Regions from separate parts of the Homo sapiens genome. Here all the other regions are linked to region 3. Evidence: promoter capture Hi-C in 16 types of primary human blood cells and fetal thymus (Javierre and others, 2016). All regions are on one chromosome and are shown on one strand. Each heading gives the region's core, a stretch centred on a gene start or on the middle of the fragment in contact. The rest is flanking DNA. Distances are from core to core; before and after follow the strand shown.

Region 1 (2,700 bases), core at 27-2,526, 350 kb before region 3:
CAACCATCAGACTTCCAGTTTCTGGTTATTAGGGACTAGTTAATCTGGACCCATCACTTTTCTGATGGTGACTACAAAAGCTGAGCAAAATGTTAAAAATATTTGCTTGGAATGCAAACAAACAAAATCCCAGAAAGACAAAGATCCAGAGTGAAAAAAGCCTTCGGGACGCTCACTTTTCCCCCAAAGCATTTGCTGCTTCAGATAGCTCACAGCCCACTGAGGAGCCAGACAGCGAGAGATTCAGCCCACCTGAGAGTGGGGAGTTGGCGAACATCCCCCCGACCCCCACCATTTTGAGTTGGGACAACAAATAACCGCACCCTAGACATAGGGGTGGATAGAAGGAGACCGGCTCTTGCAGCAACTCAGGGCCTTTTGCACCACTGCCAGGGTAGGAAAACCTAAACTGTAATCATCTTGAAATGATTTCAATCCCTGAAACTAGAGTAAGATGATCCAGGACCCCTAGTGCCCCCATGTCTCGCAGATGCAAACATAAACCCTCTCTGGAGGAAAATAAAATAGACCTCAAATGATTTCTACAAAATAATTTTACAAATACAATGTTCAGTCCACAATAAAAATTCTAGACAATTGAAAAAACAAATCAGCAAGAATGAAAGCAGCAGAGACCATAGGCAGAAGATCTACCAGTCCAGACACTGGAGTCGCGAGACAGAGACTGGAACAAAACTGTGCTTACAGCATTTGCAGAAATAGAGGTGGAATTTAGAATTTCAGCAAAAAAAAAAAAAAAAACCTAGAAAAACCAAATGAAAATTCTAGCACTGAAAAATAAAATCACTTAAATTATAAACTTAGTGGCTTTAATAGCAAATTCAGCTGAAGAGAGAATTAGTGAAGTGGAAAATAGGTCAGTAGAAAATATTCAGAATGAAGTATGGATAATACAAATGGAAAATACAGGTGACAGGTTAAGATACACAAAGGATTCAGGAAGAAGGACCAATATATTTGTAACTGGATCCCAGAGAGGAGATGAGAGAACATGAGGTTGAAGCAATACTCCAGAGTTAATAGCCAGGAAATTTCTAAAAGTAATCAAAATCATCAAGTCACAAATTCAAGAACCCCACAAACCCAAAAAGGATAAATGAAATGAATCAATTTCTAGTCCACTGTGTGAGAAGCTTGGAAACAATCAATCTTTTCACAAGAACAAAACGTGAGCAAACTGAAAGTCAATAATATTTCTTATATTCAACAGATGATGAGGTCACAGGGCAAACCACTGCCCAAAAAAGTTGTAGAGACGACAGACAGATGCAGAGAATCCCAATTCTGCAGAGCAGACACCTCCCTGGGAACCACTGCCAGGTTGGGAAAACCTAAACTGTCACTGGCAGATTGCTGGAGGCTGTGTGGCCAAGCTTGACAGTTAAAAACTCCAGGGCCCAGTCTTAGGGTGGAGGCCACACTTCTGTGAGTTTTACCTGCACAAACTCTACCAGATCCCCCAGGTAAATACCAGAGAAAAATCCCCTTGTGCTTTGGACAAGGGGAGGGGAGAAGTAGCACTTTCGAAATATGCCAGAGCATTCTGTTCTTCCTCTGCCCTCAAGAGAAACTATTTTTAACGTACCAGAGTTTAATCAGAGTCTAACCAACCTGGAGGAAGGGAAGTATCAACTCCAGCTCCCTCCAGTCTTTTATGTTGGGAAGGGAAACACACAGCCCCATTCTCTATCCCTCTTGTCTCATTTAAGAAGGAAAAACAGGATGGGCATGGTGGTTCACACCTGTAATCCCAGCACTTTGGAAGGCTGAGGCGGGTGGATCATCTGAGGTCAGGAGTTCAAGACCAGCCTGACCAACATGGAGAAACCCCGTCTCTACTAAAAATACAAAATTAGCTAGGCATGGTGGTGTGCGCCTGTAATCCCAGCTACTCAAGAGGCTGAGGCAGGAGAATCACTTGAACCCAGAAGGTGGAGGTTGCAGTGAGCCAAGATCATGCCACTGCACTCCAGCCTGGGCTACAGAGAAAGACTCCGTCTCAAAAAAAAACAAAAAAAAAACAAAAAAATGTCCAACTGAAGAAAGTGTTGAGTGAGCTTGTCATGCATTCCTACACAAAGAGTACAACCGCAATATATTCTACAATAGCAAAGCAAAATAAATAAAATCATTCCAAGTAAACTAGCTAAACAGAAAGGCTTTCCAAGAACTGGGCAGCTGTTGGAACCAAGCCAATAGAGGACTGACTGACAGCTCATCAATGGCAGAGACGTGAGCTCTAAAGCTCTCATAGCCTGGGTAATGGTCTGGAACGTAAAATCCCCACAGACTTAGGCTGGCCAGTTGACTATGCCAGGGCAACCCAGAGGTGGAGGAAAGTGGCAATTCTCCACATACCCAACCGTTTATGTGATTATGTAGACAGGCTAAAGTCTGTGCCTACTCAGTAAATAAATCACTCTCTGCATGATTCCAACTTGTGCCTAAAAGTAGAATGCCAATCCAGGTATTTATGCCCCCCATCCCTCTCATTTCTTAGGAACAGGAATCAGAGGTCACTGACTGGCTCACGGGAATAAACGGGATCAGTCTCTTGTGTTCCGTTGGCCTGTGGGGCTTTATAAGAGACAGGTTTAATTTGAGATAAGTGGACCCAGCTGTTTATTCCCAGAAGTTTAACTGTAGTTGGGGTACTAAGGAGAACTTGATAGAGTCCCC
Region 2 (2,700 bases), core at 68-2,567, 370 kb after region 3:
TGTGTTAGCATTTGCAGAAACAGTAACAAAAAGTAGTAAAAAGTTAAAATAACCTCGACACACAGCCGCTTTTGCCATCAGCCTTCCTACCGTTCTTCCTCCACCTCTGGTTTGGTGTCTGTCCTCAAGGACAGCAGAAGAGGGGCTGTCTGTGCAGCCAACCAGCCCCTGAAATACCAGGAGCCTGGTCCTAGAAGAGGACTTGGAAACAAACCCGTGGGCAAATTATCTTAACCAGTAACAAGTGGAATGATCAGTAAGAACTCGTTAAACCTCCCTAAATGCAGTCACTTTCAATGTGTCTGAGTCTCACCTCTGGATGTTCTCAGCTTGCAACCTTTCTTGGAGAAGGAGCCGGTTCACAACCACAGTCTGGAAAAGCAGATGACCCTCCACCAGAGGCACCTGGGCTCCACATTCCAGCCATCGGGGAATTTCAAAGTCTCCTCTTTGAATAACGCCACAATCCTGAATCCTCAGACCCAGCTACCAGTCACGGAGCGGTTCTGTTCAGACACTTTTGAGTGGCTGGTACGGAGCTCATAGGCCCCGAGGATGACACAGGACTCGGCACCAAACACCATCGCTTCCAGCTTCCAAAGCTACAAAATCAAGCTTTCAAAACGAGTGTTCACTTCCAGAAGTGCTTCCGTCACAGGTGTGATGTGGACGCCAAGACACACGCAGGTGGCACCTGTCACTCAGAAGTGCCGGCCTGAGTAACCTGGACTCCATGCAACCGCGTGTCAGCGTGTGCATGAGTGTGTGCGTGCGTGCACACAACCGACGGTCTTTCAAAGTGCTCCACTGTGATCTCTCGTGTTGACAATTCTACATGAAAAAAAATCAGTCACGGCCAGGCGCAGTGGCTCACGCCTGTAATCCCAGCACTTTGGGAGGTTGAGGCAGGCAGACTACTTGAGGTCGGGAGTTTGAGACCAGCCTGACCAACATGGTGAAAACCCGTGTCTACTAAAAATACAAAATCAGCCAGGTGTGGTGGCGCGTGCCTGTAATCCCAGCTACTTGGGAGGCTGAGGCAGGAGAATCGCTTGAACCCGGGAGGCGGAGGTTGCGGTGAGCCGAGATCATGCCATTGCACTCCAGCCTGGGCAACAAGAGTGAAACTCCGTCTCAAAAAAAAAAAAAAAAGGAAAGAAAAGAAAAAAAAATCAGTCACTTGATAAAGGTGAATGCTGAGATGGACACATACCTATTTTTGGTTAAATAACTTTAATTACACCACTGTAAGTAGATTCTGCCTCTGACCCTCCCACAGGACACAACCGGATGTGATTCTTGTCACTTCTATTTTAAACATGCATACTGGGAAAAACAGAAACACAAGAGTGCTATGGGTACACGCGACGTGTGAGAAGAAAGGAACCCCCTGGAGACACGGACGCGGTGTGCGGTGACAGCCAGGCCTCACTGACAACAGGGCAGCGAATCGCAGCCGGGACGCCTCTGAGGCGGAAGCAGTCTTGGGATTTCCTGTCACGCTCTCGATGCTTCTGCCCACTCTGGTTTGTCACGGGGATGCTTCATTTTGGACAGTATAAAACCGGTGATTAATGCATATCTTGCTCTTCAGCAAAATACTATTCAAGTAGTTTTAACTTAAATATTTTAAAAGTAATCTTTACATTATTGAAGATTGTTAAAAAATACAGAATCTGACAACTTTTCACTCAATCTGATGCTCTGAAACTCTTCACTTCTGTTTTATCATAATTTAGAAGGCAATCCCTGGCCTCTATAAAACTCTCTGCAGGATTAGCTTCAAGATCCATCTTTCCCCCACTGGTTCGAGTTTAAAAGGCTTTCAGAACCTTTTGCCACTGCATTATAAAGAGAACATGAACCCCTTCCCATTACTTCCTTTAGCTACACATGCTATGACTGAGAGTGTGCTGGAAGCTAAACAAGCCCCAGCTGATTTCTGCCACATAAAAGGGCGCCGTGAAGAATTTCCCTGTTGAAACCTTAATGAAGACGATGATCCCAAGTGAAGCTTTATGAAGAGACGGCACAGCAGAGTGAAATGTTTGGCAATCAACAGTTAATTAGAATTACATCCTTGATCAGGGATGATGCTATCTCCGCGAACTCAGTCGTTAGAAAAGTTGGTTTCTGCTGTGACGAGGCTCACAGTGGCCACTCGAGGAAGTCCAGCCTCGTCAGCCTCCGGTCCCGGGCCCCAGGCCCCTCCAGGCCCTCAGTAGATATCTGGGCAGTCGGAGAAATTCCGCTCAAAGTAATCCCCTGCATACAACCAGTCGGGGGTCCCAGTGTAGGGGTTATTGCCTGGGTAGAACCACCTGCCGGATACAAGGGAGGGGGGTCAGAAGATGCTCAGCCCAAAAGGAAAACGCAGCCCTGTTCTGGGTGCAGGAGTGTGTTCCCCCAACTCAGCACCATCACGGTAACGTGGGTTTTAAAATGCAGCCCAGCGTAACAACTTCAACGGAGAATTATTGATCACGTGGTCATGTGAATGCTGGAACCTAAAGATATCCAGCCACCCGTGTCAATTTCACTTCCCAACAAAATCTTGAGGGTTTAACTCAACACAAAATCCTCACACTGGGCCCTTATCAGAGAAGTTACTGGAGCCTAAATAATGCCTCTCCCTTTTCAAGGCAAAAGCAGTTACACTGTTCACATGTGCTGTCATTTAAAGCAAACCAAGTATTGGTT
Region 3 (2,700 bases), core at 36-2,535:
GGCCGTCCACATTCGTCTCCGTGGCTGCAGGGCACCCTGCGTGGCACAGTGAGAAGTACATGAGGCCGTCCGAGCCGCACACAGGGCTGTAGTGTTCTGGCTGGCAGCTGCAGGCAGCGTTGCAGGGAGCCGTTAGGTTCAGGTGGCCTTCGGGCAGGAGGCTGCAGAGGGGGGACAAGCGAGTGGTAGGGTCCAGGCCAGAGCCATGCTGGCGCCCAGCAGGCACAGGGTCAGCCATGGGGCTCGTCCCCATGCAGCCTGCATTTCGGGTCTACAAACTTGCCAAGCTTGCACCGCCCCCAGCACGCTGGGCACTCACACTGGGCACTGCCTTCTGGTGATAGAATGGTTTTTCCTCCTCACGCAAGGAAGGCACACCCATGCCCCCCAGCACCGTCCGCCTGATGCACAGCCCCTTTCCCTAGTTCATTTGTTTTTGGACAGGCAACACATTCATATGGATCAAATACAAACATTAGGAAAGAAAAAGCGCCAAGTACACAAAGGCAGCCTCGTGGCCCCAGCCCCACCCCAGTCCTCGGTTCTCCAGCCACAGGCCGGCTGTGCATTTGCAGGGGTCGTCTGCACGTACACGCCCCTCGGCAGTCACAAACATCTGCACTTCTCACTTGAATCAGAGCACACTGCGCCCATTGTCCAACTCCTTCCTTTTTCCCACTTCACAGTATGTCTTGGCAGTGGCCCAGGATGAGCTTCCTCCACTCCTTTGTGGGCAGGGCCTCTGTTGTGAGGACAGCGTAGTGACCCCGTCCACCCTGATGACTCTTAGGTTCCGATAATGCCACAACGGCTGCTTTGTGCTTCTCGGCCTTGCACGGCACCTGCAGGTGCACTCCCGGGGCCCGCAGGGCAGGGCCGAGGTGCAGGCTACCTACGTGTATTTTGGATATTCCCTAATTGCCACCTGACCAGCAGGTGTCCCTCCCACTCCCAGCACATGGCAACTCCAGGAGCACATCCTGGGACACTTTTTATGTCACCGAGAGACCAGCCTCAAGGACCCCGAACACTAGGGCTGTTGTTCCATTTGACACAGCTACAGAGCAGAGTGCTGAGGCCCAGAGAGGCATATGACTGCCCGGGGGCACAGCCGGGACCCAAGCGCAGGCACTGCTGGGGGCTGGCATGGTGCCTTTTCACGTGGATGCTGCCGGGTGCCCTGCTGAGCGGGTGTTGCCCTTGCCGCTGTCCTGTGACGTAGCCCTTTTCAAAACCACCTCTCCCAAGTGCTGCACCACTCCTCCTCCATGCCCAGGGACCGCGGGTGCTTGGGGCCCCGACGCGTACCCAGGTGCCATCTGGCCCTCACCTCCCGCCGTAGCTGGCTGTGACGCCCGCCATGGGCACACTGGGGCAGTGCAGTGAGAAGACGAGGATGCCCAGCAGGCTGACAACGGTGCAGAACAGGCAGAACTTGATGACCGCGGAGCCCCGGAGCCTGAGCTTGTTCACAAAGAAGCCGCCCAGGAAGGTGCCGCCACCACCCGCTGGCACCACCAGGTACCCTGGGGAGAGGGAGGGATTCAGCCAGGGACTCAGGCAGGGGGCCGTGGTGGGAGAGGGTGGTGGATCAGCCGGGTCCACTTTACAGGTGGGGAAACTGAGGCATAGAGGGATCAATTCCTGCCTGCATGGCAGCACTCAACACCACACCTGAGTGCTTAGCTGTTGCGCTGATAGAGCCCTAGGAGGGACCTCTGTCCAGAGCCCACAGCGGGGATGCCTCAGAGGGGAAGGGGAAGGGGAAGGGGAAGGGGAAGGGGGAGCGGGGGGGCGGGGCGGGGCGGGGGGAGGAGGAGAGCCCAGAGTGCTCCAAGGTCAGCGGCCCCTGCCCCAGTGGGAAGCCAATGACTCCTCCACTGACCCCCCTCCAGGGCAGCCACACCCCCTCCTCCCCCAGGGGCCTCTGCCGAGTCCCTGCAGGCTGTGACAAGGACATTTGTCGAAGCCTGAGTGGCCACCAACAGTAAAAAATTGCGATTAGCTGGCATCTAGCTTCTGGGCTGACAAGTGAGGAGGGCACAGGTGAGGGGACAGGTGGAGAGGGGACAGGTTTGGGGGGACAGGTGGGGAGGGGACAGATTTGGGGGGACAGGTGGGGAGGCTCTCCAAGGGGCAGTAGAGCTGACCTCTGGGGGGCTGTTGAGTGTGGGAATGTGGGCTTGTGAGGTCAGCCCAGAGGGGCCAGGCCAGGATGGGCCTGTGGGGGAGGGAGGGGAGCCCTCATCTGATGCCCTCTTCCTGTCCAGATAGTGGACCCTGGAAGGGTAGAGCGCGGTAGATTGGCGGTGGTGGCCCACATGCCTGGCACCTCTGCCATGGCCCAGGGTACTCTGTGAACGCTGGCAGGAGGAGCAGCTCTGAGGAGGGGTCCCCACTTTCTGCAGACCTGCCCAGCCTGGGAAGGCCAGCCTGCCTCTGGCACCGAGAAACCCCCAGCTGCACTGTTCCAGGAGGTCCTGAGGCACCAGTGCCTGGCTCATGGAACAGCCAGGTCCAAACCCTTCCTGCACCAAGTCACAGAAGCCAAGACTAGGTGGCTAGGGGGTGGAGCCCACCGTGGACCCTTCCACCTACGGAGCATGTCCCACAAAGAGGGCAGGACCACCACTCTCCCGGCCTGTGGACAGAGTCGCTCAGCCCCCGTGGCGCTCTCCACACCTGCTCTGGCAGCGGGGG

The links. Contacts are between HindIII fragments. The CHiCAGO score rates a contact against its expected background, and 5 or more counts as called.
Region 1: a contact is called between a fragment that was not itself captured here and the fragment with the promoter of SLCO4A1-AS1 in region 3, in 1 of 17 cell types (non-activated CD4 T cells). The highest score is 5.4, in non-activated CD4 T cells.
Region 2: a contact is called between a fragment that was not itself captured here and the fragment with the promoter of SLCO4A1-AS1 in region 3, in 1 of 17 cell types (M0 macrophages). The highest score is 5.5, in M0 macrophages.

What each region holds. Positions count from the first base shown.
Region 1 is chr20:63,011,621-63,014,320 of GRCh38, reverse strand. No RefSeq gene overlaps it. Among named protein-coding and RNA genes, the nearest start is that of BHLHE23, 6.0 kb to the right of the region's middle. RefSeq lists an enhancer at 1,234-1,383. The HindIII fragment of the contact is 240 bases long and covers 1,157-1,396 here.
Region 2 is chr20:62,293,406-62,296,105 of GRCh38, reverse strand. OSBPL2 (oxysterol binding protein like 2) reads right to left here. Exons shown (of 14, transcript NM_144498.4): 14 at 1-2,321. The coding sequence ends at 2,219. Among named protein-coding and RNA genes, the nearest start is that of ADRM1, 8.2 kb to the left of the region's middle. The HindIII fragment of the contact is 1,399 bases long and covers 618-2,016 here.
Region 3 is chr20:62,665,206-62,667,905 of GRCh38, reverse strand. SLCO4A1-AS1 (SLCO4A1 antisense RNA 1) reads left to right here and starts at 1,285. Exons shown (of 4, transcript NR_024470.1): 1 at 1,285-1,521; 2 at 1,896-2,046; 3 at 2,409-2,700. It overlaps SLCO4A1 (solute carrier organic anion transporter family member 4A1), which reads right to left. Exons shown (of 12, transcript NM_016354.4): 7 at 1,331-1,526; 8 at 1-161. The HindIII fragment of the contact is 12,915 bases long and covers 290-2,700 here.